2 separate regions of the Homo sapiens genome follow, and region 1 is linked to region 2. Evidence: promoter capture Hi-C in 16 types of primary human blood cells and fetal thymus (Javierre and others, 2016). All regions are on one chromosome and are shown on one strand. Each heading gives the region's core, a stretch centred on a gene start or on the middle of the fragment in contact. The rest is flanking DNA. Distances are from core to core; before and after follow the strand shown. Region 1 holds the start of MYO1G (myosin IG). Region 2 holds the start of TNS3 (tensin 3).

Evidence for each region. The method cuts DNA at HindIII sites, captures the fragments that hold promoters and counts their contacts. A CHiCAGO score of 5 or more calls a contact.
Region 1: the fragment with the promoter of MYO1G here is called in contact with the fragment with the promoter of TNS3 in region 2 in 1 of 17 cell types (M0 macrophages); the score reaches 7.3 in M0 macrophages.

Annotation. Positions count from the first base shown.
Region 1 is chr7:44,976,325-44,981,822 of GRCh38, reverse strand. MYO1G (myosin IG) reads left to right here and starts at 2,808. Exons shown (of 22, transcript NM_033054.3): 1 at 2,808-2,956; 2 at 4,752-4,960; 3 at 5,166-5,259. The coding sequence starts at 2,862. RefSeq lists enhancers at 1,069-1,198, 2,426-2,475, 2,506-2,575 and a silencer at 2,776-2,865. The HindIII fragment of the contact is 4,854 bases long and covers 2,235-5,498 here.
Region 2 is chr7:47,580,193-47,585,924 of GRCh38, reverse strand. It overlaps TNS3 (tensin 3), which reads left to right and starts at 3,814. Exons shown (of 31, transcript NM_022748.12): 1 at 3,814-3,874. RefSeq lists enhancers at 3,403-3,940, 3,941-4,478. The HindIII fragment of the contact is 9,706 bases long and covers 1,184-5,732 here.

The sequences.
Region 1 (5,498 bases), core at 1,559-4,058, 2.6 Mb after region 2:
GTCTAGTCTGCAGCTATACCATGGGGGGAGTGGGGTACGAACCGGAAGTCTCACATCCCTGCTTAGAAAAAAAATCCCAGGAGACAGTAACTCCTGATAGCCTCCCAGAAGGATGGAGCGGGGAATGGAGCTGGCCTTGTGGCAGCGCCTCCTAGGCCTCCACTCTCAGTTCCAGGAGGCTCAGTTGAGCTGTGTGGCCTGTGGCCTATGAGAGTATACCCCTAGGTAGAGCCATTCCCCTACAATTAGCCCAATGGTATCACCTCAGATGAGGTAAAAAAAAAAAATTTTTAATAGAAATACTAAGTTATGGTACAGTTGTGTAGAGCCGAAAAAGCAACTCCCCTGAAAGGGGACATTTTTCTGGGGCTGGGGATTTGCTGCAAGGTCAGCACCAACAGAGCAAGCCTGGGATTTGAAGGTTGCAACGAGGAGGGTGAGGGCAAGGGACCTGCAGGTGCAGCCGTAGGAGCCCTGGTGGAGGCAGGCATTGTGAAACTGATCCAGATGAGATAATGAGAGGGAAACTCACTGGGGCCAGGATGGTTTCCTCAGCCCCTGCCAGGCTTGAGTTGGTGGTGGCCCCTCCTTGCTGTCCTTCCATTAGGAGCCTCTGCCTTTGTTCATCTACCTGTTCTACCAGTCATACCCTGTAAGGAGCATGCCCTGGGGAAGCTGCAGATAGAGCTACCATTTGTCCTCCCTTCTGAGGACCAGGCCGTGACTCTGACTGACCGACTTTTCCCTGGGATTTGAGTAGGACCCACTGAATTCAGTGCTATAAGGGCCCAGAGGTCTGTTGACCCAGGAGGGAACTTCCTTTGTAGTGATGTCATCTCAGCCTCGGTTTTAATATATGTAAAATGAAAATAACAGTAACTCCTACATGTGTCATGAGAATCAAATGAGGCAATGCATGGCAAATTTGTGCAAACTACCAAGGAAGGACGCCCAGGGTCCCAGCAACCAGCAGCAGCTAAAGCAAGGGCGGGCAAACTCCTCCCACCAGCCAAATCTCTGAGCTAAGAGTGGTCTTGACATTTTTAAGTGGTTAGTGGTGGGGGAAATACCCAAAATAGTATGATTACGTGACAGATGAAAAGTTTGCGAAGTTCAGATTTCGGTGTCCTTAACGTTTTACTGGAATACAGCCATCTTGGTTCCACTGGTTGGCTTGACTCCCTGGGGGTTGGGGAAGTGAAACTTGAAAAGACAGATGAGCTGGCAAGAGTCTGGGTGAGAATTCCCAGACTTGAGTGTAGGTTTGGGAAACCCTTCAAAAGCACCAGCCCAAGAGCCTGGGGGTGGGGAGGAGGCCACACTTGTCAGAGTTCCGAAGGACTGACTTTGAATTTGCCCAAGAGGAGCCCCAGGTCTGGCCCAGGGTGGAGCCAGAGGCTGCCCACTTACAAATTTGGGGATTTTTCAGGCCAGTGGCCCCTTATTGCAGTGGTGCGTGACTCAGTTTTATTAGGTACTTGAATAAGTACTTTCAGTTTTATCAGGAATGCATTTGCTTTAAGGTATTCGAGAGAAAAAAATAAACTTAACTTGCCTATCCATTACTTCAAAGTTTAAAAAATGGGATGACTGAAAGACAATAGTTAAACTAGTGCTTATGAGTACAACAAATCTCAAAGGCAGCACATGAATGACTGAAGTTTGGGAATTCTGGAGTCTGCCCTTTGACCTCCCTGTATGAGGGAAGGGGTGAAAGAGAAATGTCACCAGTCTATTTGTAGGATGAGAGAGAACTGCATCCATTTGACCTTTGATGAGAGAATCGCCCCAGTGTTCCTAGAGGATGGGTGTGACCTGCCCCAGTCTGTCCTGGGATGAAAAAGAACTTTTTCCAGTCTGCCTGGAAGCTAAGAGAACTGCACCCCTCCCACTTCTTCCAGGAGCACTAAGTGTCAGGAATGCAGTGTCTGGAGATTTTGGCCACTCCCTAAATGCAGCCGCTCCCCAAATGCGCTGCCTCATCTTCAAAGTGCAGGGACAGCAGCTCTGAGATGAGGCCACAGGGCTCCAGGCATGTTCCTGGTCCTCACTGCAGTTTATGGGGGATCGGCTGGACACAAGTACAAGGCAGAGGACAGTTAGGGGCACAGGGGTCCCACTGAAGGCCAGCCCCATGCAGAGGATGCTCTGGGGTCCTCTGTCCCTCCCCCGTGGCTGGGGTGGGGAATTGCAGTGCTAGGACCACTGGCCCTTGGCAGGTCACACAAGAAGCTTTGCTCGTCTACACCCCAGTGTGGCCTTCACACTGCAAAGAAGGCTGTTGCCCCCACCCCAAAGGCCTGGGCATTAGGATCCTTTTTCATTTTTGTATTAATGTACAATGTACATACAGTATATTGCATCTAGTGTTCAGTTCTGACTTGAGAGACACACACAGCCAGGTAACCAAGATCACGTCAAAAAATCTTTCTTTAAAGTCCCACAAGTGACTCTAACGTGCTGCCAGGGTTGGAAGCCAACCCACGGAGTCTTGTCTCCTGCTTGTGGGTGGAGGGGAGCTTCCGAAGGAGGCCAGCGAAGAACCCTCCAAAGCGGGGAGGACCCAGCATCCGGCCCCTCGCCCCTGGCGTGCAAACGGGTCAGACCGTTAGGCACAGCCTCCTTGTGGGGCGCAGGGACAGGAAGCAGGGTTTAGAGCACCTCGAGGGGGAAGGAGTGGCAAGTGCGGAGGGCAGCCCCTCCCAGGACTAGAACCCACTTCCTACTTTACACCAGCACTGGAGGAGGCTGGTGGGGCAGGGCGGGGGCGGTGGGGCCTCCCCTAGCCTTCCCTCCCCCTCTCCTTCACTGTCCTTCCAGCAGGCACAGGAAGGTGAGGCAAGGTGTTTCCAGCCGGCAGGATGGAGGACGAGGAAGGCCCTGAGTATGGCAAACCTGACTTTGTGCTTTTGGACCAAGTGACCATGGAGGACTTCATGAGGAACCTGCAGCTCAGGTAGGCCCAGGGCAGGAGGCAGTGGCTCCCCTCCTCCAGGGTCTCCCACCTTGCGTCCTCGCAGAGACCTGAGGGAAAGAGGAAGGCACGCTGCTGTCCAAGGGAGGGGGCAGTGGCACACACCCACCCAGACCAGATGGGGCTGAAATGAGTGCCTCAAAGCACGGCCCCAGGGGACAGGAACAGACAAGGAGGCAACTGTCCCTGTCAGGGCTGGCAAGTCAGCACCGGAGCTGCCCACCACCTCAACCCACCCCTGCCTCCCACACAGTCCAGGCATCTTCTGCCCCTTCTTTCCTGCCCGACGGGGCCAGGGCATGACACTTCTTGGACAGATACATACCAGGCACTATCTTTCCAGGAGGGACCAGGGGCACCTCCCTCCAGCCACTTCCCAGCCAGTTGTTGATGCTCCCTCGATGCATCTCATCCATGGGGCCTGGCCTGAGCCCTGGGGACACTGAGATGAAGCAGTCAGGCTCCACCCTAGGGTCCAAACATTCCCACCAAGTTGAGGTGACATTCTCCTGGGGTACATGGAGTATCACAGGACACAGTTGGTAGAAGTGATATTGGAGCCCAATTTACCATCAAGGAGGGCAGGTGGAGGGCAGGGAGAAGCCCGGGAGGTAGGGGCATGGCACAGTAGGGTGGCCATACAGGCAGCTGGGCTTCCTGCCAGGACTCCCAGGGAGGGGCAGAAGGCCACTCGCTGTGTACTCCGGAAGCTCCCTGGGGAGAGCTTGGGGACCAGGATCCCCACTAAGCACCGAAGGCAAGAGACCACGAGCCTGGCTCAAAGAGGAGGGCTAGCCAGGACGTGAGCTAAGCACTTTGTGCACATTGTTCTACCTCATTCTTATAAAATGAGCTTATGAAACATTGTCCTCTCTATTTTGATGAGGAGAACACTGAGCCCTGGAGACGTGGGTGACTTGTGCCCTCATCCCCAGCTTGTAGGAGGATGGGAGCTAGGCCCAGGAAAACCCATGTCAGAGGTGGTGGAGAAAGAGGAACCTCAGGACAGGCCCACCCAGGACAGGCTGCCGGGAGACAGGGCCATCCAGGGAAGGGTGGGTACCACACACCAAGGGGAGATGGGTCTGAGGGGCAGGCCTGCCAGTCCTCCTCCCAGGGGCAGAAAGGTCAAGAGAAGGGCAGACATCCACCCCCACTGGGGACCAGGTTTGTGAAGGAAAGGGTCAAGAAGTCTGAGGCTGTGCCAGGGGAGAGGCAGCAGCCACTGGCCACAGGCTGGGGGGTCGGGGGTGTAAAGACAACGACATCAACTCCCTCCCTGTCATCTGGGTGGGGCTGGGTGGGGTCCCCTTTTGTCTCTGGGTTCCCGCCCAGGCCTTGAGACAGGAAACAGCCGAGGAGGCCCCTCCTTCCCCTCCCAGCCCAGTCACTTCTCAACCCCATCTCCCCATCTGCCCTGCGGGGTTCACCCCAGGAGCCAGCCCTGACTCACGGCACCCAGTGCAGTCTTGGGCAAGTCTGTTTCCTTTGCAAAATGAGTGGTCATGTTTCCAGTGACCTTGGGATCCCTGGGGAGACCACTGTGGACCCCAAACTCTATGCCGCAATGGAGACAGTCTCTGAGTGGCTCAGCTCACCCAGGATGGCACCAGGGAGACGCAAGGTCAACACCTGCCCCCTTCTTCCTTCTCCACTCTCAGCCCGTCAGGGTGGGAGCGCTGGCCTACTGGGGCCAGGCCCTGATATGGGCTCTGGCGAAAGGCCTGTGGGTGCCTGTAAGCCTGTGAGTGCTGAGGCCTACCCCTGCTGTGTCCAGGTTCGAGAAGGGCCGCATCTACACCTACATCGGTGAGGTGCTGGTGTCCGTGAACCCCTACCAGGAGCTGCCCCTGTATGGGCCTGAGGCCATCGCCAGGTACCAGGGCCGTGAGCTCTATGAGCGGCCACCCCATCTCTATGCTGTGGCCAACGCCGCCTACAAGGCAATGAAGCACCGGTCCAGGGACACCTGCATCGTCATCTCAGGTACCTGTCCCTGCCGCCGGGCCCCCACCCTCGGCATCTTCATTTGTGAACATTTGGGAGGGCCATTAGAGCATCTCCTGTGCCCTGTGTCCTGATGGGGGCCCTAGGACCCCATCTTGCCAGTCTTGGGGGTGTGAGTGGGCACAGGGAGCTGGGCTAAGAGAGCGAACCTGGCTGATTCTCTCAACTCTGGTCTTTCCGGCAGGGGAGAGTGGGGCAGGGAAGACAGAAGCCAGTAAGCACATCATGCAGTACATCGCTGCTGTCACCAATCCAAGCCAGAGGGCTGAGGTGGAGAGGTGAGTGGCAATGGGCAGCTCTGGGCCTCAGCATGGCAGGCCAGGGACCTCAGTGTGGCAGGAAGGGCTGGCTCTGGGGAGTGAGAGACGGCAACTGGAGTCTAGCTCAGGTCAAGTTCAGTGGGAACTTGGGAAGTTTCCAGATAATGCCAACACACCCGGAGGTGAGACAGGGTGACCCATGCCAAGGACCTCTCCTTGGGTGGGTGAGACCTAGCCAAGGTACTGGGCCTACCAGC
Region 2 (5,732 bases), core at 2,565-5,064:
ACAGGCGTGAGCCACTGCACCTGGCCTAGAAGAAATTTATTATAGGAATTGGCTCACACAATTATGGCTCACACAACTATGTCTGCAAACTGAAGACCCAGGAAAGTTGGTGGTGTAATTGCCAGTCTGAGTCCAAAGGCCTGAAAACCAGGAGCACTGATATTTGAGGGCAAGAGAAAATGAATGTTCCAGCTCAAGAAGGAAGAGGAAGAACTCACCCTTTTTCTGCCTTTTTGTTCTACTTGGGCCCTTGAAGGACTGGATGGTGCCCACCCACACTGGTGAGGATGGATTTGCTTTACTCAGTCTACCCATTCAAACGCTAAGCTCTTCCAGAAACACGCTACCCACACACCCAGAAATCACATTTTACCAGCTATCTGGGCAACCCTTAGCCCAATCAAGTTGACATCTGACATGAGCCATCACAAACACCAAGGTTATGTAAATTCCGAAAAGGTTCTGAGACACGGAAAAGCTCAGGTGCCTCTAGCCAGGCCTGGCAACTGTAAAGCCCACTTTGTTGAGCTGTAGGTGAGGATTCGTGTGTTTGGGAAGAGAAAAAGGAAGAGAGGAAAGGGCCAGGTGTTCTAGTAAGAGTCTCAAGGGACTTAGTATCTTTTTTTTTTTTTTTTTGAGACAGAGTCTTGCTCTGTCACCCAGACTGCAGTGCAGTGGTGCGATCTCAGCTCACTGCAACCTCCGCCTCCTGGGTTCAAGCGATTCTCCTGTCTCAGCCTCCTGAGTAGCTGAAACTACAGGTGCGTGCCACCACTCCCAGCTAATTTTTGTATTTTTAGTAGAGACGGGGTTTCACCATATTGGCCAGGATGGTCTCGATCTCTTGACCTTGTGATCTGCCCTCCTCGGCCTCCCAAAGTGCTGGGATTATAGGTGTGAGCCACTGCGCCCGGCCGAGACTCAGTATCTTAAGGCAAAACACAGGCATTTGCTCATGTTCCAACTCCACAGTTCTCTGAATGCGCTGTAGAGCTTTGTAACTCCATCCTGTGTAATGTTTCCTGCTGTCTCTTTCAGTTGGTCTTTGGGAAATATTTTCAGTGACAGAAAGTAAGAAATAAGGAAAAATATCCAAGTCCTTGCTCATATACCTCCCTTGATCTAGGGATACAAATTCAGATTTTTGCGGTGGCAAAGACAATCTTCATTGCAATGACAAGCTTCCAACACATCTTCTAAAACTCCTACAGGGGAGGAGCAAGAATGAGTCTGCAAAGAAGGGCTCAGGGAGGAAGGAGATTGGCGGGAGTTTCTTGCCCAGACTCCCCTGCCCTCTGCTTGGCATACTAGGAGGGAGAGGCCACTCTTGGCATATTGCTGCTTTTTTTTTTTTTCAGCTAAATGTTGGAGACTTTTGTTTTCAAAGTTGAGTTTTTTTTGGATGGCTAAGGATGGAAAAAATGCACATTCCCTTTTTCAGATACTGGTTCATGCCCTGTTTTTGTTTAATTTCTTGGAAACTTGAAGTTGCAGCCTGCGAAGTGGGGAGGCCCTGGGCTGGGGAAGCGAAGCTCTGGAAGGGGCCCAGGTCCCGATTGGGGATCCAGAGAGGCTTCCCTTCATGTGCCTCTAGACGAGGTGTGGGGAACCCGGGGAACAGCCATCCCAGCCAACACAGAGTGCGTGGGGATACTGGAGCCCGGTTTTTCTTCTCCTTTCTTGGGACACTGCCAGGGAATATAACCACAGACACTGCACGAATGAGCACCCAAGTCACAGTTTTTCTAGAAACAAAGGTGTGGTTGGGGCATCCCATTCCATTGCTACCCCAACAAGGGCAGTGTGGCCGGTGGGGCCATCTGGCTTGGGTGTGGGTAGCAGTTTGGAGAGATTTTAGAAGAGGCTCCCTGACAAAGGGTCAGAGAACCCCAGCACTGCACTGAGTTTTCCTGACTGTGAGCTCTCAGACAAACAACAGTGTCACCTCCTGTAAATGGGTGCCCTAACACTGCAAGAAGCTCAAATTCATGTTGTCATTCAGCCAACATGGTTTTTGGCATTATGATGGTTTCTGTGATGCACAGAATAGCACGTAATTGGCTCTGGGTGTGAAGATCACCACGGTCTTAATGGAAGAGAGGGTTGAGCAAAGTGATGATTTAGTCCAATTGCACAGAGTGGATGGTGTGGGCAGGCAGCTGGGAAGAAGTTAAGAGTAGCCTCAAGGCCAGATAGTCCTGATCCCTCCCACTTTCTTCGCCTGACCAGGTGGGTGACCTTGAACAAGTTGCCTAGAATGTCAGATCCTGTTTCCTTATCAGGACAAAGGAGATCGTAACAGTACCAGCCTCACCCCCATTCCTAACCCAGCTGGCTGTGACCTCCTCCCCACCTTCCCCTATGGCATCTTCCCTGGCACCCCTTGACTCATCTCATTGACTCTTGACCTGGTGTCTCCTAGAGTGTAGGAAAAATGCCTGCCTCATCTCTAGGGGCTGGGGCATGGTGCTCATGAAGCCTTTGCCTGGGAATAAATACCCAGATCAGTCTGGGGATGAGAAATGACACTACCTTCCAGAGCACAGCAGGGGTTGTTCAAGTCTTCCAGAAAAGCAGCTCTTGTTTCTCCTCATGTGGTGGGAGTGGAGTCAGAGCGTGGCTCAGGCCCCACATTCTCAGCTGTTTGGATCTGGGGACTCGAAGTTTCTGGTGGTTACTTCTGAAAGTCTTTTCCAGGATAATTATTCTTGCTCGGTTTCTCTGCCATCTCTGACAGGCTGTTTTCCCTGCTTCCCCCGCTGCCCTGAAGGGGCCAGAGGAACAGGGCAGGACCCCAGGGCTGCGGATGGGTTAGGCAGCTCTGTTCCCGAATCCAAAGCAGTTCTTGGTGACTGTCCTCCAAGACTTGCCCTGGACCCTGCTCCGGGTGGGATTCTGAGACCGCCTGCTCCACGTGGCAGATGAAATCTAGGTCTCTTCTGTGAGAGGCTGGCGGGGAGGATGTTTTCCTGGAAAGGACCACAGGACAAACCGCTGATGAAATTTCTCTTGTGACCTCCCTGGAGGAAGAGCACTTCTGATTTCTGCAAACTTTTTCCATTCCCCCGATCTCACAAATGGGGAAACTGAGGCTAAGCGACTGAGTTCAGGGCCATCTGAATCTCAGGGATGGACAGTCAGGATGGACAACCTATAGGCCTTTCCTCCTCTGAGAATCTCTCTGCTCGGGATCGTTTTTCTGGTTTCCCCTGGCTTGCCTAAATTCTGCTCATTTGTCCCGGCGCATTTTAAGAAGTCATGTGACTTCTAAAGACTTCCCTGACCTCCTCCCTTCATTAGCTGGGTATTTCAGGGGCTTCTACGGCACCCTAGGCTTTCCGGAGCGGCTGTGCTCCTTTATGTATGCGCGACTCCCACTAGGCTATGAGCTACAGGAGGGAGGGTAGGTCTTGCTCCCGGAGAGCACCTTAATCACAGGCGCTGAATGAAAGAATGAACTGGTTGTGCAGGAACCAGGATCCGAACCCGCCTCCCCAGGTACTCTAACACCGGCCCGGCGGAACCTGCAAGCCTCCAGACCACTTGGAGCCTGGGCTGCTCAATGGGTCTGATAATTCCAGGTCCTCTCTGCGGCCAGCGAAGGGAGGTCCCAGGGCGCACCTCGGCAGGGCGGGGGACCCCGGTGAAGGGCGCCTGGAGGCGCGCTGCATTGTTAGGGTGATGAGGCCAGGTGACCCGCCAGGCTCGGGGCGCGGGCGCGGGGGCCGGCCGTGGCGATTGCCCGCGCCGCCTCGAGGGGGCCCTGCCGCGGGCGCCGGCAGCCAGCCAGGAGGACGGGCCCGCCCGCGCGCTACTCGGAGCCCAGCCTCGTTGCGGCCATCGCCCTGCCGGACCGCGCCTCAGGCTCCCCCAGGTACTGGGGCCGGGGAAGGAGGAAACGCGGCCACGCGCCGCGGTCCTCTTTGTTTCGGGCCCGGCGCGGGCTTTCGCGCTCCGGGCGCAGGAACGAGGCTTGGGGAGCACAGAGATCTGGAGCTGGGGCGCGGGGACTGAGTTCGGGGAGCGCGGAGACAGAGTTCGGGGAGCGCGGGGTACGGGAGCTCAGGGCGCGGGGATGGGGTCACGGGAGAACCCAGGTTAGGGAGCGCGGGGACCCGGTTGGGGGCGCACGGGCAAGGGGTTTGGTGCGCGCGGGTACGGGGTTTGCGGCGCGTGGGGGGCGGGGGCTCGGCAGGAGTCCCAGGACAGGGGCTGGGGCGCGGGCCAGCTTCGCCGGAGTCCGGGGACGGGGGCGCTGACTGGCTGGGTTTGGGGACTGGCTGGGGCGCAGGACCACTCGAGTGGGACCCGTGGCGCCCGGGCGCCCTGGACTGAGGGCAGAGACCGGAGCAGCTATGTCGCAGTCGCTGTCGGGACCGAGCGGACTTTGCTCCCTAGGACTCCGTCTCGAGACTCCAGGTGGAGAGCGCAGCTAGGGGCTTCAATGGGCAGGCTCAAGACCCTTCTCCTACTTTTTCTAGGCAAGCTCTCCAGTGCGTCTCTTTCCCTTTCCCTTTGGTGGGTGGGAGGCAGGGGGTCTTTACGCGCTTCCTTTTTTTCCCTGAAGGACGGGACCTCGGGGTGGGGGGATATTCTGGGGTGGGGGGTGCTGTCCCAGGCTGGGGGCCAGCTGTGTGGCATGTGCCTCCTGGCACGCGGGAGCTGTCGCTGACAAGCAGGAGGAGGGAGGGTCCCGGACGGCCCAGGGGTCTCTGTGTCGGTGCTGTGCAGCGGCCTGACATGTGAGTCCCGGGTCCTTTGCTTGGAGTGATTTGAGTGTCTGTGGCGGGAAGAGATTCAGGCGTTCCTCAGGCATTCTCCAGACAGTGTCAGCAGATGACCCGAACTCCAGCGTGGTTGAAAAACTCAAAGCGCCATCAGGGTGTGGGGCCAGCAGAGAGCACTACTGAGGGTGGTCACAACCCCCTGGGAAGCCCCCAGGCTTCCTTGGGGCGCATTCACACACTTTGATCTTCCGGGTTGGCTTTCCCCCCATTTTTTTCACTATTTGAATGCATGATCATGGAGGACTCTGAAAATATACTGAAAAGTATGAATGCAGAACTCATTGTATTAATATTGCATGGCCCTTCTGAACTAACCAACCCTTTGACATTTTAGATTTTCTTGAGGCTTTGGTCTGTGCATATTAATTTTTTAAATTGCTTTCATGCTTTCCCTTTTGAATGAGGTTTACTTGTTCTGGTGATTCTGGTTCTTCTCTCTTTGGGGCCTGTGAGGTTATATTTGCAAATCAATCAACAAGTATTAAGAAAGGCTTTTCTGTGCTGAGGCCTTGAGGGCCAGGGAGGGGGTGGGGAGTCGCTGCAGCTGGAGGGTGGAGGGGCAAGGCCATTACACAGAGATGGAGGTGCACTGGGTCCTGGTGGGGGTGTGGTAGCACAGGGGGTGGGGGGTGTGTACACAGGGAATTGACAGGAGGAACTGGCAGCAAGCCCGACTCCTGACCTTAGGAATAGTAATGGTGACCCCGAAGACAAAGTAACAGGCATACCGATTGAGTGTTTGCCTGTGCTAAATGCTTTGCATGCATTCATTTCATTTCACCCAAATTACATTCCTTGGAGGGAGTTGGGATTATGATTACCCCATTTTACAGACGAGTAAACTGAGGCAAAGGAAGGCTAAGTAACTTGGCCGAGATGAAATGAAACATGGTGGTAGTGCAGCCTGGGATTCTGGGACAGGACTCTAGGGTCCCAGACCCCTGT